Regions from separate parts of the Homo sapiens genome. Here all the other regions are linked to region 1. Evidence: promoter capture Hi-C in human tissues and cell types (Jung and others, 2019). All regions are on one chromosome and are shown on one strand. The core of a region is centred on a gene start or on the middle of the fragment in contact, and the rest is flanking DNA. Distances in the headings are between cores, read along the strand shown.

Region 1 (4,421 bases), core at 649-3,148:
GAATGATACAATTTATGTTGTTCAACATAGCTCTCTTTTTATCCAATGGCAACCTTTTACAGATGACTTGGAGTTGCAAAAAGTCAAAGATTTGCTTAGGCAAATTCTTTATTCATGACATTGTGCACCCAAGATTTTCTTTCCTCCAGCCAGTCTCTGGAAACACATTTAGGGTATTGTGCTATTTTCATTTTATGACTACAGAAACAGAGTTCAAACGTTCTTAGTCTAAGACTATTCAGCAACTTCTTTCTAAACTAGGAAGGTATGAATCTGAGATCTCCCATTTTCAGAAAGCTTCCATAATCTTTGCATATATCGCATTCCAGCTTTCATAGAGGGGATGTCTGAGTCATTTGCTCATCCGACAAATCGTCATACTTTTGCCAACAAACATTCTTCCTTGGTTTTCTCTCTTCCTGAAGCGTGTAGCAATGTTCCTAGCTCTCAAGAAAGATCTGGAGCAGCTCGGAAGATAAGAGCAATTGAAGAAGAAAGTTACAATTTAGTGGAGTTAATTTTATCGCAGACTTTCAGCACGCTATTCACATGCAAACTTCACACAGAATATTTTTATCACTACCTTATTGGAATAGATTGGTAATTAATAGCTTGTAATCCACCATTGCTAACATGTTTTGACTTATTAAACACTTGGACAAAATAAAAGAAGATCTGTTTTGCCATAAGGGGGAGCTTTTGAGTTCTATAAAGAGGGGGAAAAAAGAAGAAAAAAATATATTACATGTATGTCCCAGTTCAAAAACAGACCTACAAAGCAGCAAATGGTCAGATCCTTACCTGTGACTTTAACAATTTCAGAGGACCTGAATTGCTTAAGTTGAAAACATTAGGCAAATTAATATTTTTCTCTCATTTTCTTCTTATAAAATTAAAATAATTTCTAATGACCAACAGAGTATTTTAAAGAGTATTCGGGGAAATTCAGAGACCCAGTTGTACTAGGACTACAGCTTCTGAAAGGCAGATGTCCTGGACAGTGCCTTTCTTCTATTTTCTTCTGATGATTCCATAAGAACTTTGGAAACATTTGGGTTAGCTGAAGCCAGCCTTATCTGGGGGCTCAGAAAAGAGGGGAATGGTTCATCATCGTACAACTTTAAGGAAATTCTGAGAGGGAAAAGGACAGGGAAAAGAAGAGGGAAAGAGGTAAAGGGAGAGGAAGCGGGAAGAAGAGTAAGGGAGAGAGTGAGAAAAAGAGAAAGAGAGGGAGAGGGAGGGAGGGAGAGACAGAGAGAGAGAATTAAAAAAAAAAATCTAAGAATCAAGTTTCAAGACTCTTTATGTGCTACAGAAAAGGATGAGGTTTACCAGCAAAGTGCAAAGGGGATCCTAAGAGAAGAGACAGATTTTTCTCCTGCCATCAGAAATAATAATAATAAGTGGGGGGAGTGAGGGAGGGAAAAAAAGCAAGCAAAACAAAACAAAAACAGGAATGTGTGTTTTGAGCAGGAATGAGAGCTGGGAGGACCGTAAGGGGGTGTGTACAGAATTTCATTAAATTGTTACTTTAAGATTGTCTCCTTAAAAAAAAAAAAAAAAAAAGAGAGAGAGAGAGAGAGAGAAAAGGAGGGGGTGGTGGAGAAGCGGGAGCGAAGGAAAGGAGGCAAAAGGCAAAGTGAAGGAAAGCTGGATAGCTCGGCCTCTCCAAACTGATTGATTAGTCATGATCCCCGCAGTTTTAACAGGGACTCATTCAATTGGGAAGGTGGAGCGCTGGGGAGCAGATTAGCATACGCTTGTTTACTCATCTTCTGAGGGATTTTTTCCCCCTCTTTCCTTTCATTTTGAGAAGAAGGAGGGAGGGGAGGGGGGACTTGGGGGGGGAGAAGGGGGCTGTGGCTTGTGTTATAAAGGACGCAAAAAATAAATAAATTAGAGCATCTTTTGGGGGGAGGGAATTCAGCGGATCAGTCTTAAGAGGAGCTTTTTTTTGGAGCGAGAAATCATATAAAATAAAATGAAATAAAACAAGGAGGAAGGCAACCAGCTGTTAGGGGAAAAATAAGGCAGATAAAGGAGCGGGGAGAGAAATTAATTGCCAACCAGGAGGAGTTGGGCTGTATTTTTCAAAGGTGGGGAGAGTGGAGCACACACCTTGAGGAGGAAAGCGAGAAAGAAAAGAAAAAAGCAAGTGGAAAGGGGGGCTCGCCCAAGAAGGGTGAAGAAGCGAAGAAAGTCGAGGCGCCGAGGCTCCCAAAGCTGGCAGCTCCGGGTGGCGGTGCAGGGGCGAAGGGGGGGCGGGGGGAACCGTCGGACATGCGGCTCTGGAGTTGGGTGCTGCACCTGGGGCTGCTGAGCGCCGCGCTGGGCTGCGGGCTGGCCGAGCGTCCCCGCCGGGCCCGGAGAGACCCGCGGGCCGGCCGACCCCCGCGCCCCGCCGCCGGCCCGGCCACCTGCGCCACCCGGGCGGCCCGCGGCCGCCGCGCCTCGCCGCCGCCGCCGCCGCCGCCGGGCGGTGCCTGGGAAGCCGTGCGCGTCCCCCGGCGGCGGCAGCAGCGGGAGGCGAGGGGCGCCACCGAGGAGCCGAGCCCGCCGAGCCGGGCGCTCTATTTCAGCGGGCGAGGCGAGCAGCTGCGCCTCCGGGCCGACCTCGAGCTGCCCCGGGACGCGTTCACGCTGCAAGTGTGGCTGCGAGCGGAGGGGGGCCAGAGGTCTCCGGCAGTGATCACAGGTAGGTGAGGGCGCCTCGGCGGGCGCTGCACCGTCCCTGCGGCCCCAGAGGCTCGCGGGTGTCTGGGCGCGGGTGGCGGGCGGGTCGGGGGCTTGCGGGCGTGTCTGTGCGAGAGCTGCCCCGCGAGCGGCGCAGAGACATCCGGGCGAGCTGAGAGCCTCACTTTGCTCCATCGGTGGAATGGGCACACTCGGAAGGCGTAGCTGCTCCATCCCTGGGAGGAACCTGGGGAGCCCTCCTGGCGGCCCCGCGGACCCTCGGCCAGTGAGGGCTGGTTCCCGGAGCCTAGGGCACGTAACCCGTGCTCCGAATGGTCAGATGCACTCTCTCCTTTTGGGATGAAAGGGAGGATGACCCAATTGAGATGCATGTGAAAGGAGACTTGGGGACCGTTGATTTCTTTGACGTTTTAATGGAGGTAACTCCCCTTCATTAGGCCCCATTCCCCTGAAAGCCGGCAAGGGCAAGGTTGTTGTAATGGCCAGGACTTAGAAGTCCTCGAAGTGCCCCAAAGTTGCTCACTGATTGAAGCCTGCCTCTGGGACTCACCCTCACCCCCTCCACGCCATCCCATGTCCTAGCTTTTAAAGCCCATTGCCTGTCACTCGGGGCTGGGACGAGACCTTCCTAACGCATACCCCGCCAGCGTTCCCCAGACGCGGCTGCGAAACGGGGCGCTTTTCTCATATGGGACTTTATGAGCCCGTAATGAATTTGAGTTCTCCCTCCTCAACCTCCCTCTCTCTCCCCTTCGCTGTTCCACAGCAAAGCCTATAGTGAAATCGGACACTTTGCGAGGATTGCAAACCTTAGAAATGCTCCAGCATCCATTTTCCCCCCTCTAAATGAATCTGTGGAAATGCCTTTAATAAAACTGGGGAGCGGAGGTGGGGGCGGCGCTGGAAGAGAGGAGGAAAGTTTTGCCTTTTCTGTCTGGGAGATTCCCTTTCTGCACAAACAATCTTGCCATGTCCTGGGACGTCTTAAAGTGAGAGTAGGGGTTCCCCCTTCACTGCAGCCAGGAAACGTGTGAAGGCGTTTTGCGATCCCACCCCCTCACACACACACTTTCTTAGAAGGGAAAGCTGTGAGCTCTCCGGGCAGTTCTGCTTCTTCCTGTCTTTCCATGGCTTGGACTTTCACAGATGTAGCACTGACTATCCAGTTGACATGAAGACCCCTTTAGGAGACCCACACTCTGCTGCTATCCCAAGAATACGTCTCCCGAAGCCCCCGCTTTCCAGCTATCAAAGGAGAGCGATACAGTGATTCCCCCCAACAACCCACAACTGACGTCATCGCATGCTATTTTTCCTTTTTTTTTTTCCTCCGGGAAGAAGAAGGAGACTGAACTCATTCACTTTTAACTCGCAAGCCCTATTTGCCCAGAGGAGGGTCTAATTTGGAACAGAGGAAACGTTATCCATAATAATAATGACGATGGTGATAATTTAGAGCTGTAGTATGTTGACTTCTCTTTCCAAACATGTGAAAAAGCAAAGAGACTGCTGCTTGGAGGTGATTTTTTTTTTTTTTTAATCTGTAGGTCTGGTTTTTCCTAGTCTTTACCTAGTACCAGTGATTTGGAAGGCATTCCCTGGAGAGAGGAGAGCACAGGGTTATGCAGGCATCATCAGTGAAAGGGTAGTGAATGCATTTTAACTATGTAAGTGTGTCTACATAAATACGTGTGTGTGTGTGTATATATATATATACATGTATATAT
Region 2 (4,421 bases), core at 488-2,987, 240 kb before region 1:
CCTTCTACTTTTGGTTTTGCACTTACCAGTGTGTACTGGGGAGTGGCGGTAGGGTTAAGACTCAACATTTACTTCCTGAGTTTTGCAATTATTAAGTGTTGTCAGCTTTACACATGCATTCAGTGTCCCAGTTACATTTGGGTTCCAGCCCAAACACATTTGCTCTGGTTGCTCCCATTGCCTAGAAAACCTATGTGTCTTCTCTTGCCCAGTGCTCTTCAATAGCAGATAATCATGATCATACGATTACTGCTAATAATAATAACAATAATAAAACAGCTATCATTTATTAAGTCATCATTATGTGCATAATAGCGCAGTGTGATTTACATACATATCTCATCTCTCCTAAAGTTGGACTCTATGTAAAGATTTTTTGGTATCTCTCACCTTGCCTAGGACAAGAAGAATGATAGGCACTCAAGAAACGATAGATTCAATTATCTCATTTAATCATCACATTGGATCAGAGGAAAATATGTCAAGAGATGCTCAGAATCTTCTCAAGGTCACACAGCTAATGTAAATGTCAGAGCTAAGATTCAAACAGAAGTCTGCAAGATCATAAATTTCATCGGGATCTGTATTGCAACAAAGTACCTGCATAAACTTCAAGCTTTTTTTTTTTTTTTTTCATCTCTCAGGGAAAAAGGCATCAGGTTGTAATGAGAGCTGGACAAACTGGGAATAGCTAGTAAAAGTAACCTGGACATCGAAGTTTCTACGTGTGTGTTTTGTTAGAGAAATTGGAGGGAGCAGTGTACATGGTAGCAGAGGAATTGCTGGTCAAATACCCTTTTCTCTTCCACTTGAAAGGCCTCTCTCTTTTAAGTACATATTGATTAGAGTCCAAATATCTCAATTCTATTCTTAGCCCAGCACCTTAATTACAATGGATTCTCAGTTAAACCTGATGGTTCAGTTCCCCACCATCCTCCACTCCAAACTCCTTTTAACACAGAGATCAGAATAATGCATCAGAATGGCTTTCTTTTTTAAAGAAGTGATGATCTATGAGAAAAGTGTATTAATAACATTATATTCATGTTAAACATTTTAACCTTAATGACCCAGAGTCATTTTTCTTGGCAGACAAAATCTCAATGCCTAATTTAAAAAACAGAGTTATATAACATTTATGGTTAAATAATAATATTAATAACAACAGCAACAACAACAATAATAATCAATTTTAAGGCATTTGCTATGTAGCAGGCACTATGCTAAAATAATTATATGCATTATTTCATTAAATACAATCAACATCCTATATAGTAATTACCATTATTATGTTTACTTTGTAAAACTTGGCCTTAGAGAAGTGAAGAAATGTATCCATGGCAGCTAGTGAGTGAAAGAATTTGCAATCTTTCTGGCCCTGGAGTCTAAGTTCTTAATTATTAACATAAACTGATCCTCCTAGTGAGAAACAGGATGGTGTTTCAAGAGCTGTAAGATATAGATTTGGGACTCAGAGGGGTTAACTCCCAAAGGAAACAGACATAATATGAGTAGAATAAGAAAATGCACATGTGAGTGCTTTTGATTTTTTTAAAGGATTAGAAAAATCTAAGCAACTGCGCTGTATGTCATAGAATTTTACGTCAGGGACAAGGAGACCTCCATGACCACCAGCAGCAGACCTTAATGCCTCTTTCACTTGAATATCACTTTATAGTTATCCGGCAAAGCTTAATCCACAGTACAGTTGCATAGTTTCTTGTGAGTAGCTTAGTCAGACTTGGACACTGTAGTGCAGAATGCCTAAGTGTTTGGCTTCAGATCAGAAAGTAATACATGGAAGTGCTAGGTGTCAAATCTTTGTCATTCTGTTCCAGTTACAGGATTCTTTCTTACAGATAAAAAAGAGTTTGATGAATTTTAAGCATCTTGACAAAAAGTACAGTTATTTGGTAGCATTGTCAAAATGGTTTTTAGAGACACTGGGGAAAAATCAGAGAGCAAAAATGTGTTTTGGATAATTCATCAGAAATATTATAACAACATTTAGGTCTTTCAAAAGGAGCTGCACACTATTAAATGCACCAAATCATGACCAGCAAATATGTAGGTTTTCTGGCTTTCGAGGACTGAAATTATGTAGCTTTTACTGAACGTGGGGAAAAGGATCCAGAATTTTCCTTCTTCAGAAATACTCAGGAATAAAATCACAGAAGATTTGGAGGTCAACGACTTCAGTTAAAATCTTGAACAGTTTTCTCTACAAGATTGTGAGATCCATCACTAGATCCTTTTGGGATACTAAAGCTGAGTTATGAGTACGAATTTAAGCAATGGGAACCACCCTGTGTGTGTACATCTATGAAAATGTTCGATCCAAATGGAATCCAGATCACAGGGGCGGAATACGTCTGAGAGGCAGCATTGTTACTTATACCACAAATCATTATTTTTTTCTTTCCATTTTATAAATTCCACTCCAGGATGAAACATTCAAGTTGTGGAAACATTCAAGATCAGTTTCTCTTAGTGGCTATCATGCACATACTGAAGCAAGATGAAGACTGGCCTTGAGTCATCTTGTGGAAGCTCATTTGGGGTGTCAATTCCAGGCTTGTGTTTGAAACAGGATTTGGGGACGTCAGTTCCAGGCTTCTGTGTAACTTAGATTTTTTTGTGTGTATGTTTTTTATTCTATCCTGGTGATGTTTTCCAGACTGAGTCCACTATTGTGGTTTCTATAGAAAAAGAGGAGAGCTGGAATAATAATACTCCATGATGTACGTGGTTTCCTGCTCCATGTGTGGAGTTAGAAAGTGAAGAGGAACGAACGTAACATAGTGTGGCCTACTGCAGCAGAGCAGGGGCTTAGGGAGAGGCTTAGAAATGGCTTTGGGAGGGTAGGCCCTGAATTGTGTGTTGGCGGAGAGGCTAGGATAGTCAAAGCATCACACTTTGATTGCCTTCTCTACCTGTCTCCCTGCTATTCCTCAAATATGACAGGCATCCTCCTGCCTCAGGATCCTTGCACCAGCTGTGATCTCTACTCGGAATACTCTTCTTCAAAGCTGACTCCCATAACACCTACAATGCTCATTCAAATGCCATTTTTTTCAGTGAGGCTCACTCTGATCACCCTATTTCAAACTGCAATTTGCATCCTCCCTAAAGCCTTGTTTTTCCCATACTTACTCCTTTCTAACAAACGTGTATATTTATTTAAATTTGTTTTTAGTTCCCTTTTAGAAGGTATGCTCTGAAAAAGAGAGGATTTCCATCTACTTTGTTCACTGATAAATCCTAAGCACACAGAATAGGGCTAGCATAGGGTATAGGCACTCAAATATTTTTTAAATAAGTGGTTAATTTTTTTCATATTGTTTCCTTTAATTACTTTTTTATCACATTATGATAAAAAATGTCATAATATAAAGCCTGTCAATGTACTTCCTTTTAAAGTTATTTTTTTCTGCTGGGCACGATGGTTCATGTCTGTAATCCTAGCAATTTGGGAGGCCAAGGTGGGCCTATCACTTGTAGATCAGGAGTTCAAGACCAGCCTGCCAACATAGCAAAACCCTGTCTCTACAGAAAAATACAAAAATTAGCCAGGCCTGGTGGCACACGCCTGTAATTCCAGCTATTCGGGTGGCTGAGACCGGAGAATTGCTTGAACCCAGAAGGCGGAGGTTGTAGTGAGCCAAGATCATGTCACTGCACTTCAGCCTGGACTACAGAGTGAGAACCTGTCTCAAAATAAAATAAAATGAAGTTATTTTTTTCAAAAGGTACCAATTTAGTAAACATGCTCAAGGGATACAACTGTACCTACGCCCAAGTCATTTTAGTTTTACAAATATATAATTAGTCAAATCAAAAAAGGCATGTCTGACAGATGAATGAATGTTAAGACAATGCTAAATAACCTTTAAGGGGAAAGGCTGAGGAGGCAGAGGTGCTTGTATGTATCATCTTCCAGGAGCCAGGCATTGACAAACACCACTATTACAAATAAAAGCCTGAGATTCTGAAAATTTAAGTGACTTATGGAGGTTACACAGCTAATAAAAAGAAGCAGTATGATTTAGATTCATTATTCCTGACTCCAAATCCTATGATTTACTGCAACATAGTGTACTATCTTCAAACTGTAAATTCTTCAGAAATGGTTATTGTAGATAATTTACATGTTGGATGCAGTAGTGTGCCATGCAGTTACCTTTCTTCAGGACTAAGGGGCTCCTTTTCCCTGATGTTGGGATTGCTGTTCACTATCAGCTCTCCAGCTACCAACTGCCCTCTACTTCAGGGAGCCTCCTCACCCTAGGTCACACCTCTTCCCAGGGCCAGCCCATATCCAGTACTCTTCAATGTGGGGTACAAAAACATGGCCCCCTTGCCTCATGTGGAACAACTCTGAAGGCCATCCCAGCTCCAGTGATTCCAGTGGGACTGATGGA
Region 3 (4,421 bases), core at 1,285-3,784, 220 kb after region 1:
GATGATGACAGTGATGATGATGGTAATTGCAACCAGGAAGAAAAGATAGTCTATTCTTCCTACCACCAAGGCAGGAAATGAAAGCCTTCTTACAAAACCTGATCTGAAAAAGCTCTGGCTGGGCTAGATGTCTCACTGGTATCAAGAGGAAAAAGGCTGACATCTGAGGGGCCCCATCTGAGATCTCCCAACTTCTCCTGTAAACAGCCTAGCCAATCCTTCAGCTCCCACTGCCTGTCCCCTTTCCCAGTTCTAGCACACAGAGGGGTCCTGTAGTGAGACAGGTGGGGCGTGCAGCCCTGAGTAATAGTGGAAAATCCAAAAGCCTTGGAAAGATAAATAGGCTTATGCAGATAGTATAAAAGTCCTTTTTCCAAACTCACGTCAGGTAAACCTCAACTGACAGAAACTTGTACAACCACACCAAGACACTCCTACAGATGGATTAAATTAGCTCTCAAATAAACAGGGGAAGGCATGGGCATCGAATCCCTAGTGGATTCTAACTCTGCTGTTTTCCACTTCTTGAACCTTTACCAAATGCCCTCCAACATCTCTGGATTTTGACTGGGAACAGACTCTCATACTGAGAGAGGAAAATCTGGTTAAGAGAATGAAAGCAGGTGATCCTCTTCACCCAGCCCCATGGCTGGGAGGCAGAGGGGGAAGAACGTAGCTTAATTGAAAGAAAGGAATACTGAAACAACCCAAATTCCCTCATTTGTATTTGTATCACATTCCTTCATGTATTTCTTCACTGTGCTCCACGCTTCACCCTGGAAGGATACAGAAGTGTCTATAACTCAGGATCTGCCCTCAAGAAACTTAAGAAATTGGTACTAGGTTTACCATTTTCACAGCATTTATATGAATGCACCATCTCAACAAGTCTATGATGTTTTCAGTACCTATCTTGTGGATGAGAGAACCAAATCTCATAGTGGAAATGTACAAAGCAATTCCAAATCAGAATTGCAACCACATCTGTCCCATATCATATCCCATGACTTTTCCCATATACCACTTTATGCGTGTACTGGGGATGGGTAGACAATTTCAATAGAAGCAGTAAGATGCAAGACAGTAGATTTCACATTGCAAGACTGATTGGAAGATCATCAAGTTAAGCTCTTTCTCCAAGGTCTTTGATTTACTTGAAGGTTGATAGTGGCTACATTCAGCCTATACTAAACTGATCCTCTAAACTAGACTTGTTTAGAGGACAAGTCTAGTGCTTGACCTTAGATGATCTTCTGATGCTCTAGAAGACAGGAAGACAAGTAAAGAAATTATTGTCCACTGGTAAAATCATCTCTATTTTGAGAAGAATCTGTTCCTTTATAAAATAAATATTTATTTAGCATCCCCTCTGTCAGGCATTCCTGAAGGCATGGCATATCTAATGTGAACCTGAGATTTTATGGAGCAGAGAAGAAAGGCACCCAATCCAGTCTTGGGGTCACCTGATTCCCTCTGTCACAGCCTCACCAAGAGGCCTAATTACAATTTGGCTACCATATAGGTCTGCCCTCAGGGAGAGAATAGGCTGTTTACATGGATTTTCCACATTTTGGCCCAGGTGACTCTTCATTTTTTAATTAAAATTAATCAACTGGCCTCTCAGTCAGTTGAACAACCTCTGATCATGTGGACTTCCATAGTTGGTTGTTCACAGTTACCTGTCACTACACATCTAAGCATGTACCATTTTATTTTATTTCATTTTATTCTTTAAAGAAATAATTGTAATCTGGCATGAAAACTGGGGCATCCATGGAGAATAGAAAAGGGAACTTCCAGGATTTTTTTTTTTTTTTTTTGAGACGGAGTCTCGCTCTGTCGCCAGGCTAGAGTGCAGTGGTATGATGTCAGCTCACTGCAACATCTGCCTCCCGGGTTCAAGCGATTCTCCTCCCTCAGCCTCCCAAGTAGCTGGGACTACAGGCATATGCCACCACACCCAGCTAATTTTTGTATTTTTAGTAGAGACGGGGTTTCACCATGTTGGCCAGGATAGTCTCGATCTTTTGACCTCATGATCCACCTGCCTCGGCCTCCCAAAGTGCTGAGATTACAGGCGTGAGCCACCACGCCTGGCCAAGCTTCTAGAATTTTTATGGTAACTGTATTCCTAATACTATGTTATCTTTCTAGTCTTATTTAGCTTTCTTATTTCACCCACTTTTTAAAATATCATCATGTTGGATTTTATGTTATGAGCTTTATTAAATCATTTCTGAAACAACTGGTTATTTTCAAATCCTGGTTTCTCCACCAAACAGCTATGGAGCATGGGGAATTTACTCTCTTATGACACAAGATTAATGCCCACCTCACATCATCATGGCAAGAAATAAATAAGATAATGCATACAGTAATTAGCACAATGAATATACTCAATATATTTTAGTTGTCATTATCTTCATCATAATTATTATTTTTAAAGAGGAGGCTATAAATAAGTGCCTATAAGCTCTGCCTAACGGGGCTAGGAAAAGTGCCAAAGAAGACATAAATTTTGAGCAGACATTTAAAAGATTCTCAAAGTGACAAAATGGGGAAGGGCATTCAGGGAAGGGGAAGAGCAAGAACGAATTCACTGTGGGCAACCTCAGAGAACTGTGGGCAGACCAGTATGACACGGCAGCAGGTGACAGCAGAGGGGTTCTCTGCCTTTCCAGGGATTTGAACCATAGGTTGGTTCATAATAGCCCATGTGCTCTCAGACTGTAGTGTGCATTGGAATCATCTGCAAGGCTTGCTAAAATGCAGAGTCTCAGGGCCTGGTCTCAGAGAGTCCAATTCATTAAATCCAAAGCAGGTCTGAGGAATCTGCCGTTAATTAAACACACTCCCACGGCAATGCTGATGAAAGTGGTCTTCAGCTCATGCTTTGAGAAATGCTGCTCCACAGTTTTCTCCCATCCGCCTGCTGCAGTCACACACATGTATGCACACATACACACACACACATGCAAACACACACATGCGCACACACACACACACCCCTCCTCCCCCCACCTTATCCCAACTCCACGAATGGGTCGAATATTAGTCGAGAATTTTCTGAAAGGCCTTTCTGATCGTGTCTCTACCCTCCAGTTCTGCTTCTCCTCAACCCTTGTTCCTGCCAGGGAAATACAGAACCATGACACATGCGGTGAACACAAATATTATTTTAATCTTGTGGCTCCTGTTATTGCAAGTACCCGGGCAAGTTCTCCATGTAAAAGCCAGGGTGAGGTCAGGAATTGGAAGGTCCCAGAAGAGGTGAGGTGGTTAAATGTAATGCCAACACGGAGGTGGGTCCCTCCCAATCCCAAGCCCATCTGACCTTTCTCTCCCTCTTCCCACAGAGAGTTGTCTGCACTGCTGGTCTCAAGTGGTATCCTCACCCTGCTCTGATTCACTGTGTCAAAGGCTGTGAGGTGAGTCACAAGGAAGGCACTCCTCAGTTCCCTGGAAATAATCCTGCTGTTGTTATTGTTATTGTTATATTAATGTTGGCTATCCTTTGCCATACCTACTGAGTGTTGAAAATATCCATTTAGCAGACTTCTTGGACAGGGATTAGCAGCCTTATTTTACAGATGATGGAATTGAGGCACAGAGATATAAAGAAACATACTAAAAAGCATAGGGAATGGGTAACAGAGTTGGGTTCCAAGCCAGGCTTTTGTGGCTCCAGAGCCTGTGGTCTACAAAATATGGGATCTGTAAGAAAGGAAGGGCAGGGGGCTATAATGATTTACCATCTAGAATATGCTAATGTTGGAAATTTACCAACATTGTTACATTTAACCTTTACAGAGTCAGGTGAGGTGGTTTTATTTTTAATTTCCATTTTACTGATGACCTTTACTTGCAGACCTATTCCTTCTGCCCCACATCTTAGTCATTTACTCATGCCTCAATCCCAGAAGGAATATGAATGCCTTAGACCTAACCATTGAGCTGAAGTGAAAGAGCCTTTATAACCCTTAAATTCTATGACTTCACAGTTGAGCCATTCCTTACAGCTTGGAATTATAGAGATCTGTCTCTGTGTGTCAGTGACAAGCTTGGGAGGACTCAAGGAGCATGGTTCTTGGGAGATCAGCTGTGTCCTGAAGGGAGGGCTGTCCACGGAACTCAAAGACATTTCTGCACATCACTCTGCCCCTTGTGGCTCTTCCCAGCTGGCAGTGAAAAAGCGGCCCCAAATCCCTTCCAGGTGGATGGCCAAATCTCTGTGGTTCATCCAGAGCCCACTGAGGCAAACGCAGGTGAAAAGGATCAGACCATGCCCTAGAAAAAGTCGTATCTGATGAAACTCTTAGAATGCCAGAACCAGAAAGACTCTTTTACCTAATCTCAACTAATCTTTTATTTTTAAAATGGGTAAACAGAGACCCAGGCAGTGGCTGGATCTAAAATTTGAT
Region 4 (4,421 bases), core at 614-3,113, 210 kb before region 1:
CTATTAAGTAGTGAAGGATATTTTGTATGTGTCTGGACATCAGAATTTAATAGCTATATAGAAGCTGATGCAGGTGGGCATACATGCTGAGATTTAGTATTTGTTTTGATTCAACATTTCAGTTAAAATCAGCAAGAATTAGTTAGGTATTAACACTAAGTTTGTCATACCTAAATGACACAATTCCTGCCACCAAATTTTCAGAGACTAGGATAAATTTCTAATCTGAATATTGCATGAATATAATGATGTTAAGGAAAAGTTGATTTCTAAATTAGGGTGAACAGGTGTTCAAATAAATGTTCTAGGAAAACGGGGTAATCACATGAAATTTAAAAAGTTAATATAAATAACGAACTCTTTCCAACATAACATGTTATGTACTCCAACATACATATATACAAATATGTGTTATATTCCCAAATGGATTTTAAGTCCCTTGTAAATAGTGACTCTTTCTCATACCATCATTAAGATGGTGCTTGGCTCATATTTGGTTCCTAATTTAAAGAAAATGTTTGGGGAGGGGAGGAGGGCAAAGCATAAATATATTGAAAAGATCATCTAGAAAACCAAGGAAGGATTACATTGATGGAGTAATAATTATATTTAAAATATGTGGTGGATTATTATTTTTAAAGAGTTCTCTACTATAAATAACATCCCTCCAAATAAATAGGACTCCCTTCACTGAATGAAATGCATGCATTTCCATATATAAATTAAATGATCTGTCAGCATGGAATGGAGAAAAGTGAAACAAATCAAACTGAATTTCAACCCTGTACTGGACTTCATAGAGTTGTCCCTAAACCTCTTGGAACATTATTCAACTAGCCCCTAGCCCATTGAAGTGGATTCTGTTTCTTCGCTTCACTTAGAGGGCAGGATTGCTGTGAAATTCAAATGAAAACCCCTCTGTGAAAGCTGAACCATGAGGTAACTAGCATCCTAAACCTGCCTAACCTTCACACAGGCAACTGCCAGTCAACAGTTCTTCAAGAACTGATGAGCTCATGATCAAGAACATGCCAACCAGGCAGAAAAGTAATCTTAAATGAGCAGCTTCTTAAAAAAGGAGAAGAAATAGAAGAAGAAAGATGATGGAAAGGAGGAAGGGATATCCAAAACAGATTAGAGAGAAGAGAAAAAATACCTTCAATCATTTGACCCCTCTAATTTCTCCCTACCAGTCATGCCCAGACTTCCCTTTCTTTCCACAGCTTAGATCCTGGGTGCCCACTTTAAAGAATTCCTTTATCAATAGAATATTTTTACTTCCTCTACTATGCAATATTCACTGATTTGCTTTATTAATGTTACAATCTGAACACTGCTGCTGAAAACTGGGAGAATTAAAAAAAATGTCCAACCCTGTGAATTGGGGCTACAAGAAATTGATAGTCTCAGACCTTGAGCTCTCAACACTCTATGGATTTGTCTATTCAACACAGAGCAATCATTCATGTTTCTCCTACACGCTCCTCTCAAGCTTCCTCCCTGGCCACTATTTCACTGATCCCAAGTGAGTCTGGAAGCTCTACCAATTCTTGGCTCTCCACAGATAAAACCTTCCTTTATTAGTAATAGAATCCAGGACAGGAAATTTCTTCAGTGTTCTCCCACAAGTCTTTAAGATAAGCTTCATTTCCATCCATTTTCCTCTCTTTCTTCCATCACAATATATGGCTGTGTCCCTTGCTATCTAAAGTTTATCCCTCCATCTGTGCTCTGGTGAACTTCTCCAGAACTTGTCCCTTTGAGCTATCCCCATGCCATCGTGTGTCATCAACCCCATCCTTCCTTCTCCCATGAATCCTTTCCATCAGCGCTACACAGAGGATATGTTCACCCATGTTAAGATGCTGAAGTTTCTCCCAGATAACAAACCACAAAACAAGCTGAGTGTGTGTCCTCTTCCAGTTACTAACATTTTTGTTTTCAGCCCTTTGCAACCTAACTTCTATAAGAATTGTGCATACTCCTAGTCTCTCATTTCTCATCCCCTATTTTCAAATCAACCCATTATCATCTGGCTTTCTTCCCTTCATTCATATCTCATCCCAATGGCACATGCCATTGTGCAATATGTAATTCATAAATATTTGGTGAATGAATCAAACTTGTTTTACCCCACCTCTCCACTATCTTTAGCCAAGTTTATCAAAGACCTCACTGTTGCTATATCCAATAAATGTTGCTCATTTTATCAAATGGGCTTATTCACAGCGTATGACACTGCTGTCATCATGTCTCCTGGATTCCTTTTTTTTTTCCCTATAACAGCTCTATCAAGCTATAATTCACATGCCTTAAAATTCACCTTTTTTGAAATGTACAACTGAGTGATTTGTAATATATTCACAGAGTTGTGCAATCTTAACAACTACTTAATTCCAGAACATTTACATCACTTCAAAGAAACCCCATACCCTATAGCAGTCACTCCCAATTCTCTTCTTCCACCCATTCCCTGGAAACCACTAATCTACTTTCCGTCTCTTTGGATTTAACTACTCAGGACATTTTATGTAAGTGAAGTCATTTAAAATGTGGTCTTTTGTGACTGGCTTATTTCACTTAGCATAATATTTTCAAGATTTATTCATGTTGTAGCATGTATCAGTATGTCATTTTTAAATGGCTGAGTAATATTCCATTGCATATATATATCACATTTTGTTTATCCATTCACCTGTTGATGAACAATTGGGTTGCTTCTAATTTGTTACTATGAATAATGCTGTTACGGAAATGTGTGTACAAGTTTTTGTATGAAAGTGCATTTTTATTTTTCTTAGTTATATACCTAAGACTGGAATTGCTAGGTCATATGGTAACTCTATGTTTAACATTTTGAAGAAATGTCAAGTTTATTTCCAAAGGAGGTGTACCATTTAACATTTCTGCCAGCAATATATGAGGGTATCATTTTCTCCACCATTTTCATCCTTGTCAAACTTTTTACTATCTTTTAAAATTTTAGCCATCCTAGTCAATGTGAAGTAGTGTCTCACTGTAGTTCTGTTTTTAATTTTCCTCATGTCATATTATCTTGAACATCTTTTCATGGGTTTATTGGCCATTTCTATATCTTTGTTTGAAGAGGAATGTCTACTCAGATATGTGCTCATTTTTTAATTGCATTATTTCTCTTTATTGTTGAGTTGTGATCATTCCTTATATATTTAGCCTTTAGAATATATAAGGAATGATCACAGAGATAAAAGTACAAAACTCTTATAGAGACTCTTATGAAATATATGGCTTGCAAACATTTTCTCTCATTATCTGGGTTGCCTTTTCACTTTCTTGGTGGCGACCTTTGAAGCGAAAACTTTTTAAACTTGATCTTATCCAGTTTGCCTACTTATTCTGTCTTCACTTATGCTTCCAGTATCATATCTAAGAAACTTTTGCCTAACCCAAAGTCATGAATATATACTACTATATTTACTTACAAGACTTTCGTACTTTTATCTCTGATATTTAGGTCTATGATCCATTTTATGTTAGCTTTTCTGTACAGTGTAAGGAAGGGTCCACCTTCATTTTTTTCCAGGTAGATAGCCAGTTGTTTCAGCACCACTTGTTGAAAAGACTATTTCTTTTCATATCGATTTGTCCAGGCAACCTTGTCAAAAATCAATCAACTATATTGTAAGGATTTACTTCTGAATTTTCATTTCCACTGCATTAGTTTATAGCCTATCTCTCTGCAAGTACAACATTTTCTTAAATACCATACTTTTGTTTAAGTTATGAAATTAAAAAGTGTGAATTTTTAACTTTATTTTCCTTTTTAAAAATCATTTTGGTCCTTCTTGGTCCCTTACATTTTCCTATAAGTTTTAAAATCAGTTTGTCAATTTCTGCAGAAAGTGGCACTAGGATTTTGATAGGGACTGCATTGAATTTATAGTTCAATTTGGGAAGTACTGCTATCTTAACAATATTAAATTTTTCAATCTATAAATGTGGTTAAATTTCAATTTATTTAGGTCTTCTTTAATTTCCTTCAGCAATGTCTTGTAGTTTCAGTGTACACGTCTTGCATTTCTAAACCTCGTGGACTATGTATTTTTAAAAAATTAATTAATAAACTTTGGTACAGCAGAATTTAAACTATCTAATAATTATAATAAGTTACCTGAATATACTCCCAATGAAGAATCTTTGTGTTTTTATTATATTTCTTTAACATAGGAAACCCTTTTAATCCATGTACGATATTATTTAGTTTATAATTATGTGTTTGGGCCATACCTTCCTGTTTCTTAGTGTGTTTCACAGCTTCGTGTTGAAAACTGGAATTTTTCATAATCTAATGTGGCAACTCTGGAAATAAGATTCCTCACTTCCCAGGGTTTTCCACTGTTACTGTTTGTTGTTCCTGCTGTTTGAAGTTTGTTTGGTGACTT
Region 5 (4,421 bases), core at 800-3,299, 190 kb after region 1:
TTTGTGATATGCTTTGGAAGCTTTTAGCTCCCCCCGCCTCCAGACTTTATTTCTCACTATACTTTTGAGCAGAGGGTAGAGAATAGGAATAGATCCCAGTAAAACCCTCAGTTGGGTATCGTGAAACTGAGAGAAAACAAAAAACAAAAAACAAAAACAACGACAAAAAAAAAGTGCAAAACTTTTCTGACACTGGTTTGGCCAAAATGTCTCCCTGTCTCCTAGATAAAAATAGGAACATAAAAGCCTTGAGGTTCTAGATGTAAATCATCGGTGCATACGATAGGCCAGGTGTTGGGGGTAGACACAGTCAGAGAGGCAAAAGTCAGAGAAAACTGCCCCCTAGAAGCTTTTACTGTTAGGCAGAATCAACCTCTTTAAAGTGTTTAAGAGCTATTGCAAGGCATCATCACCATTGGTTTCCTGCCATTTAGGAAACATCTGCAAGGAATTTTTATTGGCACTGCAAAGTACACCAAGATGAAATAGGCATTTTCTCTGCCCTCAAGGACGTTCTAGTCCAGAAACATGGGACAAGGTTAACAACAAGGCCTTTGGAGTCACCCCTCTGGATGGGCACTTAAACAAGTAACCTAATCTTGCCAGTCCCCAATTTACCCAACTGTAAAATGAGTAACGCTTAGCTCATAGGGTTGTTGTAAGGATGGAGTGAGCTCATGTATATAAGCAATCAGCAAATAGTAACTAATGTTATTGAGTGCTTGCCTAACTATAATACAAGGGGAATGATCATCCAAGAATGAGGATTTCATGCTGTTTCTGTTTGCATCCTTAAAGATTAGCCTGCAATCTGTTATGTTCCACTGGCACTGAGGAACTGAGTTTTTAATACATCAAACATGAGGCAACAGCATTATAGAAAGAAGGGTAGAATACCCATGAGGGTGCTTGCCGAGGGACACAAGAGAAAGCTTCCTATGGAAATTTGCATGATGCTTAGACCTAAAGAACGGGTGGAATTCAGACTGGCAGAAAGGTAGAATTCAGAGTTGCAGCAAGATGCAAGACATAGTCTCTGTACAACTCCACTAATGATGTGTAAGTTATCTTACAGTTTATAAAAGACTTCTACCTCCATCACCTCAGTTGAGTCTCGTGGCTATATGAGGTTGGCCAAATTTAAGAGTATACCGAAGCTCAGAGATGTGATGTACTTTGCCAACTAGGTAATAGAGCATAGGTATATTTACAACATCAGCTACCACTTATTTTTATTTATTTATTTATTTATTTATTTATTTATTTAGAGATGGAGTTTCACTCTTGTTGCCCAGGCTGGAGTGCAATGGCGCAATCTCAGCTCACTGCAACCTCCACCTCCCAGGTTCAAGCTATTCTCCTGCCTCAACCTCCTGAGTAGCTGGGATTACAGGCGCCTGCCACCACGCCCAGCTAATTTTTTGTATTTTCTTTTTTAGCAGAGGTGGGGTTTTACCATGTTGGTCAGCCTGGTCTCAAACTCCTGACCTCGTGATCTGCCCATCTCAGGCTCCGAAAGTGCTGGGATTACAGGCATGAGCCACCGCGCCCAGCCCAGCTACCATTTACTGAGTGCTTAGTATATGCCAGGAGTTCTGCTATGCGTTTTTTTCTAAACTGATTTAATTCTCAAAATGATCCTTGTAAGTGGGTACTCACAAAATAGAAAAAGGCTTTTGCTCAACCTGGTGCCTGGTAGAAAAATGCAATAAATATTCACTGTAATCATGATGATCCCTTTCTCACAAATGGAAAAACTGAGGCTATTCAAGGTTTAAATCTTGATAACATACAAAGCTTTCAAGTGGCAAGATTTGAACTCTGGTTTGTCTGTTGCCATAACTTGTGCTCTTAATGAGAAACTTTAATCGCTGCCTCTAGAGTCATCTTCACCCTAGCCAGCACCCCTTTCTGTCCTCAGTCTCAAGCCCCCTGAAATCTTGGAGAAAGAGGCTCTTAGCCTTTATCTTCCAACTGAGCATAGCTGTCCTGTGAGGAGACTCCTTCTTCCCCTCGTTTCTTTCCTCCCCAGCTGCGTGCACTTCGCATGTGAGAAAACTGACTGTCCAGAGCTGGCTGTGGAGAATGCTTCTCTCAATTGCTCCAGCAGCGACCGCTACCACGGTGCCCAGTGTACTGTGAGCTGCCGGACAGGCTACGTGCTCCAGATACGGCGGGATGATGAGCTGATCAAGAGCCAGGTATGTGCAGGTGCTGAGCTCAGAGCCTCTCTGCAGCCCAGGGAAGGCTTACTGGGTGTTAACCATGTTCTCTGCTAAATACCCAGCAGCACTTAAAATAGTGCTGCCACATAGTAGGTGCTCAATAAATATTTATTGATTAAATGAATGCATGAATGAATCAATTAACCAAGCAAGCAGTCTGGAATCTCTAAGAAAAAGGGTTCCTGTGCAGAGTAGTGTTCCACACAATACTTACCAATGTTTTTGTGTAGGTTGCAAATCTCCAAGACCATGGGGCTGAGTATTTTGGAATGAATATCTTACAGTGAGAACATAATTGAATGGGCTGCTTTATGACAAGGTGAGCCCTCTGTCAATGAGATGCTCATTCATTCACTAATTCATTGCAAAGCATCTGTTCACTGGAAATTGGATGCTATAGTAAGTACTAAAGAAAAAGAAGCCATTAAGACAAATCGAGTCCTTCTTCTGAAGGAGCTTAGTGCCTAGTGGTGGAGGAAGAGTCAGACAACTCATTAATGATGACCCCACTGTGTGATAAATGCTGTCAAGGGAATTGTAGGGTGTTGTGGAGGCACAGAGAGATTCAAGGGAGGTGCCTTGGAAAAGTGACATGGAAACAGCTAACTAGACAGATCAGCAAAGGGGTGTGTGTTGGGGAGAAGGAAGAAATATATGTAGTAGGCACAGGCATGGATAGTATGTGGAAGCACATTGATGAGAAAAAAAAAAAAAAAAACATGCCACAGATTTTTTTGTTTGTTTGTTTTCTTTTTCTGTACTCACCCAAGCAATGAGGCTGGAAGGGCCAGCTGAATCCACTGGTGCAGGGCCTGTTGATTTAGTCAGGAAGTGTGGGGTTGATCTTCAGGACAACAGGGAGCTGTTGCAGGAAATGACATGGTCAGATCCTGGTTGACAAAGTCTCTTCTAGATACTCCATGTGGGTGTAGCTTGGAGTCTAGCAGTAAGACTGGTAGCAGGGAGACCCCCTCCCTCAGACAGTCATCAAAGGAGTCATGGAAGATAGGACGTGTCCTGCGTGAGATTGGTGGTAGTGAATGATTTGGAGTGATGTGACAGAATGTTGCTTCAGCAAGATGGTGCTGTAATGTCCCAGGTGGGGCTTGGGGGAGTGGGACAGGTTGTCCTGGGATTTGAGGATTTCTGTCACTAAATGTAGCATTTTCCAGGGCTGGTCAGTGGACTTTGCCTTCAAACTGCAAGCACACAGGGCACATTCCTTACTGCTGGGAATGCCTATTTGTACAGAACTTCTGGACTTGCTCTTCTTAGACACCTACTTCCGTGTGTCAGACTTGGCAGGCCTGAACTCCTGTAGAAACAATTAGACTGTTTTGGCAGTGAGGGACCTCACTCAAGCACACATCCCTTTGATGTGTGCTTAAGAGGGAAAATGTCCTTTGCTTTTAAAATCCCAGATCAACGTTTGGCATCTCCAGTCCCTAGGATTTAGCGGCTTCCTCCTTGAATGAAAGCCTCCAGGCTGCAATGATTGTCCATCCCTTGACTCCGTAGCATGGTCTTGCCCTCCACCCAGCTCCACCATCGTGTAGTTTGGTTCAAATCTCCATTTACTCTTTCATTTTTCCTAGGCTTTTTTTTGTCTTTGTACCCTTCTCTCTTGACTATTGAGCCGCCAAATCTGAGAGTAGGGAGTGGATCTTTGAGCAGTTCATGAGTTCAATCCATCCATTTTGCCAAAGGGAGAACTCAAGTAAGGAAAAGGGACTTGCCTGTGGTCTCATAACATGGAGGAAAAACATGGAGGTCTCCTATAGCCATGGAGAGTGCCTACTGTGTGCCAAACACTACAACAAGTTCCTAGTAACTCCTCTAGAGCTAATAAAAGACATACAAATCAACACTTGATGTCCTACCATTGAACTGTATTTCACAGTCTGTTTTGTGAAAGAAGTCATCATGCCCTGTGAGGTCTCAAAACCTCAAGATTCTCATCAATAAAATGGAAATCGTGATCTGGGAGGCACTATAGACAGCAGTTAAGAGCATAGCCTTTGGACTCAAGTCCAACTTATCCTTTTCCCAGCTGGTTAACTTAAGGCTGATCATGTAATGTCTCTGAGTCTCAGTCTCTGTGTCTTTGAGATCTGAAATATGTAATTCATGGAGTTATTGGGATCATTAAAAGTGAGCTAACGTTAAACACTAAGCATTGGTCTCCTAGTGCCTGGG
Region 6 (4,421 bases), core at 1,179-3,678, 190 kb before region 1:
AGCAAAGAGTAATTGCACTTGATAGTGTTAAGTACCATTTTGGTCATTCAAAAAAGGGAATTATTTTACCTGACTGGGGAGTTAGAATAGACTCTATGAAGCAGGGAGGTTTTTGACAGCACTGGAAGAAAGCATGGAGTTTGGATAAACACAGGTATGAGTAAGAAGGAAGGACATTTTTTGTTTGAGGAAACAGAAAGTGCAAAGATACATAGATTAGCTTATATATTATAAAAGGGCTGAGAAATGAGGCTGAAAATGTAGGCTAGAAGTACAGGGTAAAAGGTTTTAGGACTTTCTGAATTCTATAGGCAATGGAGAAGCATTAGACGTCTTTCTTGAGTGGATTGTAAATTATCTGAAGATGGAATATTTGAATATTTCAACATCATAATATAATGATTGGCAAATAGCACTCAGTAATTGTTTGAGTAAATGGTGGATAGTGGATGGATAAATGAAGACATGGATGGATGGATAGATGAATAAATGAATGAAATAATGGTTATGGAAGATATACACCCAGCTGTCTTGTACTCATCTGCTTGCCAATTAAATCATAACATTTAGTAAATATTAAATAAATTAATTGTTCACAGACTGTGCTATATATTATTTGTGCTTTGAACTTGGAGCAAATTCTCTCTTTATCATAGTAAGCCCAGGAAAGACTATCTTGCCCACATTTTGGAGAGATTCATTTTCTATGTACTGTACTCTACCTATTGGAAGTCAGGGATTTTTTTTCTTAGCCATTTTTGTTGAGTCATTGTCTTTATTTTGATAAGAAGGAGCACAGTTCTTTAAAAATTTGGACCCCCAAAGCCAATTTTTATGTTTCCCCAAGCACTGCAATTGAGGCCATTCTGCCTGGCTATTAATACTCTAATGGAACATTGTGCCCTCTTACAGAGGGGAAATCAGACATTGTGCTGAGCTGATTAGAAGTGATGGCATGGAGCTTCTTCCTGAGAACGGAAGTCTTGTAACCTCAAATACCAAGGACTATAAATCTCAGCAATATATAATGGTAATTGGTTTGAAAGGCCTAATCGACACAGAGAACGGAAGCCAAGTGCAGAATACTCAGGACTGGAAGCTCCAAGCCTCTGCCTCCTTCCAGAAGGAGATGTGTCATTTTCTCCCTCAGTGCTGGGAACAGCAATAAAGGATTTCAAAAGTTGAGCCTCGCTAAATGTCCAGGCTAGAAGCCCTGGGTGGTGGTCAGTAGGGTCTAAGAAATCTACCTGCAGCACATTAATCTGGGGACCTGGTAGAAACACAGATTCCTAGTTATCATGTTTGACATATTGAATCAGAATCTGTAAATTTGAGCCCAGTAATTCATGGGAATTTTAACAAGTTTCCAGCTGATTCTTATGCACAATTATGTTTGAGGACCATATTGGCAAACATCAATCCCTATATACTCCATGAGATCTTCCTAAGTCCCCTACCTCTATATTATAATGAAAACATCTCTGATCTTGAAAATGTTCTTCCTTCTTACTCATATCTGTGTTTATCCAAACTCCATGCTTTCTTCCAGTGCTGTCAAAAACCTCCCTGCTTCATAGAGTCTATTCTAACTCCCCAGTCATGTAAAATAATTCCCTTTTTTGAATGACCAAAACGGTACTTAACACTATCAATATTATATATTACAATGAAAACATCTCTGATCTTGAATTTAGCCAACCAATGCTTAAATTTTGTGTGAGCCACCTACTTAATATGCAGGCTTTAGGAAAGCTCTGCTTTCTTTCTTTAATCATATTTTCTTCATTTTGCAAATGAAGAAATTAATGTTCACCAGGCTAGATTCTCATCAGGATCCAAAATGATTCAATAGTATATGAAAATGCTGGGACATGGTAGAGATCCAATAATAGTAGTCACGAGCTTGAAAACCATGTATAACTTCAAAGGGCATTAAAGACAGATTTGGCTATGCACCTCTGAATTTGAAACTAACGAAGTCAAATCTGTTTTGAATATAGACACAATACAATTGAGATACGAAGAGTTGGAAAGAACTTGACTTGATTTCCAGTTTCATTGTTTATTAGCTACAGAGACTTAGGCAAGTCACTTAGTTTCTTTCAGACTCCAATTTGTCATCTGTAAAATGGGCATATACCACCTGTTTCTCATACCGTGAGAATTAAGGATATTTATGAAATGTAGTTGGCATGTGTATTAGCTTGTTCTCATACTGCTATTAAAAATACATGATACTGGGTAATTTATAAAGAAAAGAGGTAAAATTGGCTCACAGTTTCACAGGCTGTACAGGAAACATGATGGTATCTGTTTTGGGGGAGGCTTCAGAGAGTTTTTACTCATTTGGGAAGGTAAAGGAGAAGGCATCTTACTTGAAAGGAACAGGACCAAGAGAGAGGAGGGAAATATAACATACTTTTAAACAACCGGATATCATAACTCACACACTATCATGAGAACAGCACCAAAGGGTTGGTGCTAATCCATTCGTGAGAGCTCTGCCTTCATGATCAAATCACCTCCCACCAGGACCCACCTACAACACTGGGGATTACAATTTGACATGAGATTTGGTGGGGACATAGATCCAAATCATATCATTCCACCCTTGGCTCTTCCAAACTCCACGTTCTTCTCACATTGCAAAATATAGTCATGCCTTTCCAATAGTCCTCCAAAGTCTTAACTCATTCCAGCATTAGCTCAAAAGTCCAAAGTCCAAAGTCTCATCAGAGACAAGGCTAGTTCTTTCTGCTTGTGAGCCTGGAAAATCAAAAATAAGTTAGTTACTTCCAAGCTACATTGGAGGTATAGGCATTGGGTAAATACACCCTTTCCAAAAGGGAGAGATAGGCCAAAGGAAAGGGGCTACAGTCCCCATGCAAGTCTGAAACCCAGCAAGGCAGCCATTAAACCTTAAAGCTCCAAAATAATCTCTTTTGACTCCGTGTCTCACATCCAGGCACACTGGTGCAAAGGGTGGGCTCTCAAGGACTTGGGCAGCTCCACCCCTGTGGCTTTGCAGGGTTCAGCCTCCATGGTTTCTCTCATAGGTTGACATTGAGTGCCTGTGGCTTTTCCAGGCACGCCTTGCAAGCTGTCAATGGATCTGTCATGCTGGGGTCTGGAGGATCATGGCCCTCTTCTCACAGCTCCACTAGGCAGTGTCCCAGTGGGGCTTCTATGTGGGGGCTCCAACCCCACATTTCCACTTTATACTGCCCTAGTAGAGGTTCTCCATAAAGGTTCCACCCCTGCAACAGGCTTCTGCCTAGACCTCCAGGCTTTTCCATGCATTCTCTGAAATCTAGGCAGGTGTTCCCAAGCCTTGACTCTTGCACTCTGTGCACCCATGGGCTTAACACCACGTGGAAGCTGCCAAAGCTTATGGCTTGCACCCTCTGAAGTAATGGCCTGAGCTATACCTGGGACCTTTTTAGCCACAGCTGGAGCTGGAGTGATTGGGATGCAGGGAGCAGTGTCCAGAGGCTGTGCAGGGCTGTGGGGCCCTGGGCCTAGCCCAGGAAACCATTCTTCCCTCCTGAGCCTCTGGGTCTGTGATGGGAGAGGCTACTGTGAAGGTCTCCAAAATGCCTTTGAGACCTTTTTCCCATTGTCTTGGCTATTACCACTTGGCTCCTTTTTACTTATGCAAATTTCTACAGCTGGCTCGAATTCCTCCCCTGAAAAAGGGCTCCTTTTTTTCTTACCGGATAGCCAGAGTGCAAATTTTCCCAAGTTTTATGCTCTGCTTCACTTTTAAATATAAATTCCAGTTTTAGGTCATTTCTTTGCTCATCTATATGAGATAAGTTGTTAGAATCAGCCAGCTTACTTCTTGAACTCCTTACTGCTTAGATAGTTTTTCCTCCAGATACCCTAAATAATCATTCTCAAGTTCAAGATTCCACAGATACTTAGGGCAGAGGCACAATGCCTCCAAGTCTTTTGCTAATGTGTAACAAAAGCAACCATTAGTCCAGTTCCCAATCAGTTCCTCATTTCCATCTGAAACCTTCTCAGCCTGGATTCACTGTCCATATCACTATCAGCATTTTCATCACAACCATTTAACAAGTCTCTAGAAAGTCCCAAATTTTCCATCATCTTCCTGTCTTCTTCTGAGCCTTCCATACTCTTCCAACCTCTGCCCACTACTTAGTTCCAAAGTTGCTTCCACATTTTCAGTTATCTTCATAGCAATGCCCCATTCTGTATTAGTTCCTTCCTACACTGCTATAAAGAAATACCTGAGACTGGGTAAATTAATTTTTAAAAGAGGTTTAATTGGCTCATGATTCTCCAGGCTGTACAGAAAGCATGGTGGCAACTACTTTTCAGGAGGCCTCAGGGAGCTTTTACTCATGGTGGAAGGCAAAGCAGGAGCAGGCATCCTATATGCAGGAGTAGGACCAAGA
Region 7 (4,421 bases), core at 1,426-3,925, 170 kb after region 1:
TATTAAGATCTTGCCTTTCAGACCTGGCCTTCAGATATAGATTGCCTCAGCAACTCCCTTCTCCAAGCCCCTCCCTCAGCCTTCAGAGAGCTTGAACACAGAACCTACCACATTTCTCTATGAGTGTTTGCTTGCTTCGTTCTTCACCTCCCACCCCCATGGGAGGAGAAGGAATTTTTATCTTTGTTGCTTTTGTTCCTTTGGGGTCCATTTTCTTCATGTGGACCATGGGAATGAAGAACCTAACACATAAATAAGTGCTAAATAAATGTTGAATGAATGAATGACAGAATGAGAGAGACATAGAAACATTTGATCCTAGGCTGGACAGAAAAAAAAAAGATGCTTTCAAAAGAAAACAGATCCCTGGGAGCACCCAAACCACTGCCTCTCACCCTGTAAGAATACAAGGAAGGTTTTGCATCCCACTCTTTTAACCCCGTCAGCATCTTACTCTTGGAGGTAGCACATGTGCTGTGAAGTCACCCACGGACCATCTGGCTGGGGATCCCGTGTTCCTCCTCTGCAGCAAGAGATTACGTAAACTGGACAGCAGCCTCCAGATGTTAGCAGTTTCTGCTCATTTTTTTCCTCCCTTTTCAACAACAATAATAATAATTAAAACAAACACAGGCCTCATCCCCCACCCGCACCCCTGAAATTACAAACAGGTGGGCCCAGATGTCCTCCCCCTTCCCATCCAAGGGCCTCCTATTCTTGAGGCCCAGCCGCCGACCCTCAGCAGGGCCTGCCCTGGGCTGAGCCGGACAGTCATGCCAGCTGCCCTGTGGCTCAGGCCACAGTCTCCCGAAAGGGGAAATGGCCATGTCATGAGAAGTCTCTGTGCCAGACTTTCCCTCTCCCCGCCTCCCACCCCAAAGCCTTGGCCTCCAACTTAAATGGATGTATTTTGGAGGACTAGGTGGCTTAAGAGATTAGTAATGAGATCCCAAGTCTTTCACTGCTGGGTCAGGAGTTCATAGGCGGGCCTGGGCGACTAGTGAATGGCATAATTAGGGAGACAGGGAGCAGGCCTGCGGAGGGCCCGTGTGAAATGAGCCCAGCCAGGCCTTTAATGGCAGCAGTTGTCAGCAGCACAAAAGGCGGCCGCCACATCCGACACTAATCACTCTCCCTTGTTAGAGGATTTACTAGCTGGAGGAGCTCAAGCCCCCTGCCCATCTCCTCCTCAAAACGGGCATCTGGGAAGGGACTCGGCCCAATGCCTGGCTGTACTGTCTGCAGAACGGGGAGCTGATGCCAACCCCATGGGGTAGAGGTGTGAGAACTAACATTTCATGCAATATAAATGAGTGACTAGTGTCATTATATTAATCAGTACTTCCACTGCTATTGTGAATTTTCTTTCTCCATTTGAAAAAGGGGGTGGGGTGGGTGATGAATCTCCCCATCACAGTGACATAAGGATGGTGTCCATGGAGGTGGAAGCATTTGGATATTTATCATCCTCACCGTTATTGTCATCATTCTCATTAAGATCAGCATGTACACTGTGTGGGTCTCAGTTTTCTCATCTGCAGAATGGACTGGGAATAGGAGATAGAACTGAAGTAACACAGACTTCAACATCCACTCCGAACAGGTGTGGCCTTGGCACCTTATTTATTACCTCTGAGCCCAGGCTGTTTATCTGTAGGACAAACAAGAAGGAGGATAGTAATACTGGCTTCCCGGGAATGTGGGGAATCTATGTTTGGAACATAGGTGCTGGACAGTAAATGATGGCAAAGAAAACATGTTAGCTTTACCACTTTCATGAATGGTGTCTTAGGCCTCTAACATAAGCTTTTCCCTTAGAAGAAGGTTGAGACATCTATCTGTTGTCCCCCAGAAATCCTGAACCTGTGTGTATGAAATTGAGGAATTTAATGAGTAGTCTCTAAGAATCAATTCTATGATTCTGAACCATATCATTTCTAAGAAACTTAGTTTCCCTATCTGTAAAAATGTTAGTATGCTGTAGGGCAATACGTCTTATATGATTTCTATATTCCCTTTCCATTGAAAGCCTGGCTTTTCCTCCATGATCATTTGGTCTGGCCAGGGGTTTGCACCCTAAATCCCAGGATTTCAGACTTGTGGGGAGGTGCCAGCCTGAAGGGTATGAGACCCCTAAGGAGTGTGAAATGCCTAATGTGTTAGGGACAGATCCCTGGAGCAACGAGGTGCTAATCAGCCCAGAGCTGAGCCCCAAGGCTGGAGGGCATCCAATGCCAAGTTATCTTATCAGAAAGTGTCTCCTGGGTAGAGGCTCTGAGATCTGCTGCTATTTCTAGAACTCTGGGAGGGAAGAAGAAGCCATCTCTCTGTTTCACACTCTGGCCCTGCACACAGGAAATGCTTCTTTCCTTGATTGTCTGTCTATGCCGAATAATAAATGCTCATATTGAAAGAAACGCAAACCACCCCTCCCTTTCCCCTCTATCTCTTTAAGGCAGGCATCAAAGGGGAAAGCTGCTCTGGAGGCCTGGGGAAAGTGATAATTGTTTCTAATGGTTGGTAAAAGAAAGCCTGGCTCCCCCCTCTCTTTTTTCTGCCATTGCTATTAAGTGTGTAAAAAGGAAGTGTGTGTGTATGTGTATGTGTGTGTGTGCCTGTGTGTTGTGTTGTGTTGTGTATCTGTTAACCCTCGGCTTCCCTTAAAGTTTTCTGTGTTCATTGGTCAGTTTGGAATTAGAGGCATAAGAGGGAAGCAGGGATAGAAGTAGGAATGAAGAGAAGATCTCAGGTAGGAGAGGTCTATAGTGCTCCGCAGGTAGTGGGAGAGGCCCTGAACCTGAAGTTGGAAGATTTGAGTTGTGTTTGTTCATTATATGCATTAACTGAGATGAGACATGTAAAGTGGTATTGTTGTTATACATTTTTTTTTTTTTTTGAGACGGAGTCTCACTCTTTCACCCAGGCCGGACTGCAGTAGTGCTATCTCGGCTCACTGCAGGCTCCACCTCCTGGATTCACTCCATTTTCCTGCCTCAGCCTCCCGAGTAGCTGGGACTACAGGCGCCCACCACCGCACCCAGCTAATTTTTTGTATTTTTAGTAGAGACAGGGTTTCACCGTGTTAGCCAAGATGGTCTCGATCTCCTGACCTCGTGATCCGCCCGCCTCAGCCTCCCAAAGTGCTGGGATTACAGGCGTGAGCCACCGCGCCTGGCCATACATTCGCTTAGCATCTAAGCTGGACCTTCCTCTGCTCTTAATACTGAAGATAGAAAAGACAAGAGCTCATTCTTCCCCTCAGTGAGCTAATGACCAAGTTCAAGAATTGCAAATAGGATTCATCTTCTAGGCCAGTTCTGAGCAATTAGAGTGACTCCCCATAGTGTTTTGTTGAGAAGGATTTAGAGGCCTACCTTCAGGGATGCACTATGTAATTAATGGTGCCTGTCCTGTGCAATGGATGAGAGAATGGTAGCACTGATGTCACGTGGGAATGAGTCCTGGTTCTCCTGGTCCCTTTCCTGCACTACATGGTTATTATTATCTCTAAACATTGGTCTAGGCCCTATAGACTTTGATTTCTAGATCTAATGCGTCACCAATCTTATAAAGCCTTGGGAAAGCCATATTAGTTTAACATAGGGGACATTTGGTGAGCCCTGCCCAGTAACCTGCATTAGACACTGATGAAAAGGAAAGAGAAGTCAGGCATAGGCACTGTCTTTGAAGCTCATACATGGAGATTCAGATGGACAAACAAGAAACCATAATGCAAGTGTATTACCTCAAGGGTATGGACCAAGAGTTATTGGGAGGTCAAGCCATGGAGTAAGAAGAGAACAGACTTTGCGTCAGACGAGCATGAGTTTGACTGCTAAGCCGTGGCAGGCTGATCAATGCCTACCCAAACCTCAGAGTCCTTATATCTCAATTGGGGATAAAGATGCTTATTTCACAAGATTATTAGGAAGGTAAAATGAGATAATACACAGGCAGCACCCATACTGGGCAGACCATCTTTAAGAGTTGGTGCTGGCCAGGCGCGGTGACTCACGCCTGTAATCCTAGCACTTTGGTAGGCCAAGGCAGGTGGATCACCTGACGCCTGGCCAACATGGTAAAAACCCCATCTCTACTAAAAATACAAAAATTAGCTGGGTGTGGTGGCAGGAGCCTGTAATCCCAGCTACTCGGGGGGTGGAGGCAGGAGAACCGCTTGAACCTGGTAGGCAGAGGTTGCAGTGAGCTGAGATCGTGCCATCGCATTCCAGCCTGGGGTACAATAGGAAGACTTAGTCTCAAAAAAAAAAAAAAAAAAAAAAAGAGCTGGTGCCCTCTCTCACTCTCCCAGGAAAGCACTGAGGAGGGAGAACATCATCTGATAAAAACAGCAAAGCCTGGTTTATGGAGGAGGTTTTATTTCACCTGGGCCATTCTGTGTCCAGGTTCCCTGAGGCCCT

The links. Contacts are between HindIII fragments. The study calls those that stand out against the background at their distance.
Region 2: a fragment that was not itself captured here is called in contact with the fragment with the promoter of PAPPA in region 1 in 1 of the 25 tissues and cell types used here (mesenchymal stem cells).
Region 3: a fragment that was not itself captured here is called in contact with the fragment with the promoter of PAPPA in region 1 in 1 of the 25 tissues and cell types used here (mesenchymal stem cells).
Region 4: a fragment that was not itself captured here is called in contact with the fragment with the promoter of PAPPA in region 1 in 1 of the 25 tissues and cell types used here (IMR-90 fibroblasts).
Region 5: a fragment that was not itself captured here is called in contact with the fragment with the promoter of PAPPA in region 1 in 1 of the 25 tissues and cell types used here (mesenchymal stem cells).
Region 6: a contact is called between a fragment that was not itself captured here and the fragment with the promoter of PAPPA in region 1, in 2 of the 25 tissues and cell types used here (IMR-90 fibroblasts and mesenchymal stem cells).
Region 7: a fragment that was not itself captured here is called in contact with the fragment with the promoter of PAPPA in region 1 in 1 of the 25 tissues and cell types used here (mesendoderm cells).

Annotation. Positions count from the first base shown.
Region 1 is chr9:116,151,893-116,156,313 of GRCh38, forward strand. It overlaps PAPPA (pappalysin 1), which reads left to right and starts at 1,899. Exons shown (of 22, transcript NM_002581.5): 1 at 1,899-2,695. The coding sequence starts at 2,281. RefSeq lists a silencer at 3,676-3,765. The HindIII fragment of the contact is 11,414 bases long and covers 1-4,421 here.
Region 2 is chr9:115,912,142-115,916,562 of GRCh38, forward strand. The region is part of intron 1 of LINC00474 (long intergenic non-protein coding RNA 474); the gene reads right to left. Among named protein-coding and RNA genes, the nearest start is that of LINC00474, 11 kb to the right of the region's middle. The HindIII fragment of the contact is 3,658 bases long and covers 1-3,566 here.
Region 3 is chr9:116,374,220-116,378,640 of GRCh38, forward strand. It overlaps PAPPA (pappalysin 1), which reads left to right. Exons shown (of 22, transcript NM_002581.5): 20 at 3,357-3,428. Among named protein-coding and RNA genes, the nearest start is that of PAPPA-AS2, 13 kb to the left of the region's middle. The HindIII fragment of the contact is 3,818 bases long and covers 626-4,421 here.
Region 4 is chr9:115,937,134-115,941,554 of GRCh38, forward strand. LOC124902258 (a long non-coding RNA gene) reads left to right here and starts at 2,413. Exons shown (of 2, transcript XR_007061749.1): 1 at 2,413-2,531. The HindIII fragment of the contact is 3,170 bases long and covers 279-3,448 here.
Region 5 is chr9:116,342,511-116,346,931 of GRCh38, forward strand. PAPPA (pappalysin 1) reads left to right here. Exons shown (of 22, transcript NM_002581.5): 14 at 2,033-2,201. All of the region lies in intron 1 of PAPPA-AS2 (PAPPA antisense RNA 2), which reads right to left. Among named protein-coding and RNA genes, the nearest start is that of PAPPA-AS2, 19 kb to the right of the region's middle. The HindIII fragment of the contact is 7,322 bases long and covers 1-4,421 here.
Region 6 is chr9:115,964,166-115,968,586 of GRCh38, forward strand. No RefSeq gene overlaps it. Among named protein-coding and RNA genes, the nearest start is that of LINC00474, 41 kb to the left of the region's middle. The HindIII fragment of the contact is 3,892 bases long and covers 483-4,374 here.
Region 7 is chr9:116,318,150-116,322,570 of GRCh38, forward strand. All of the region lies in intron 10 of PAPPA (pappalysin 1), which reads left to right. It overlaps PAPPA-AS2 (PAPPA antisense RNA 2), which reads right to left. Exons shown (of 6, transcript NR_170222.1): 2 at 1,474-1,651; 3 at 455-595; 4 at 109-242. Among named protein-coding and RNA genes, the nearest start is that of PAPPA-AS2, 43 kb to the right of the region's middle. The HindIII fragment of the contact is 4,306 bases long and covers 523-4,421 here.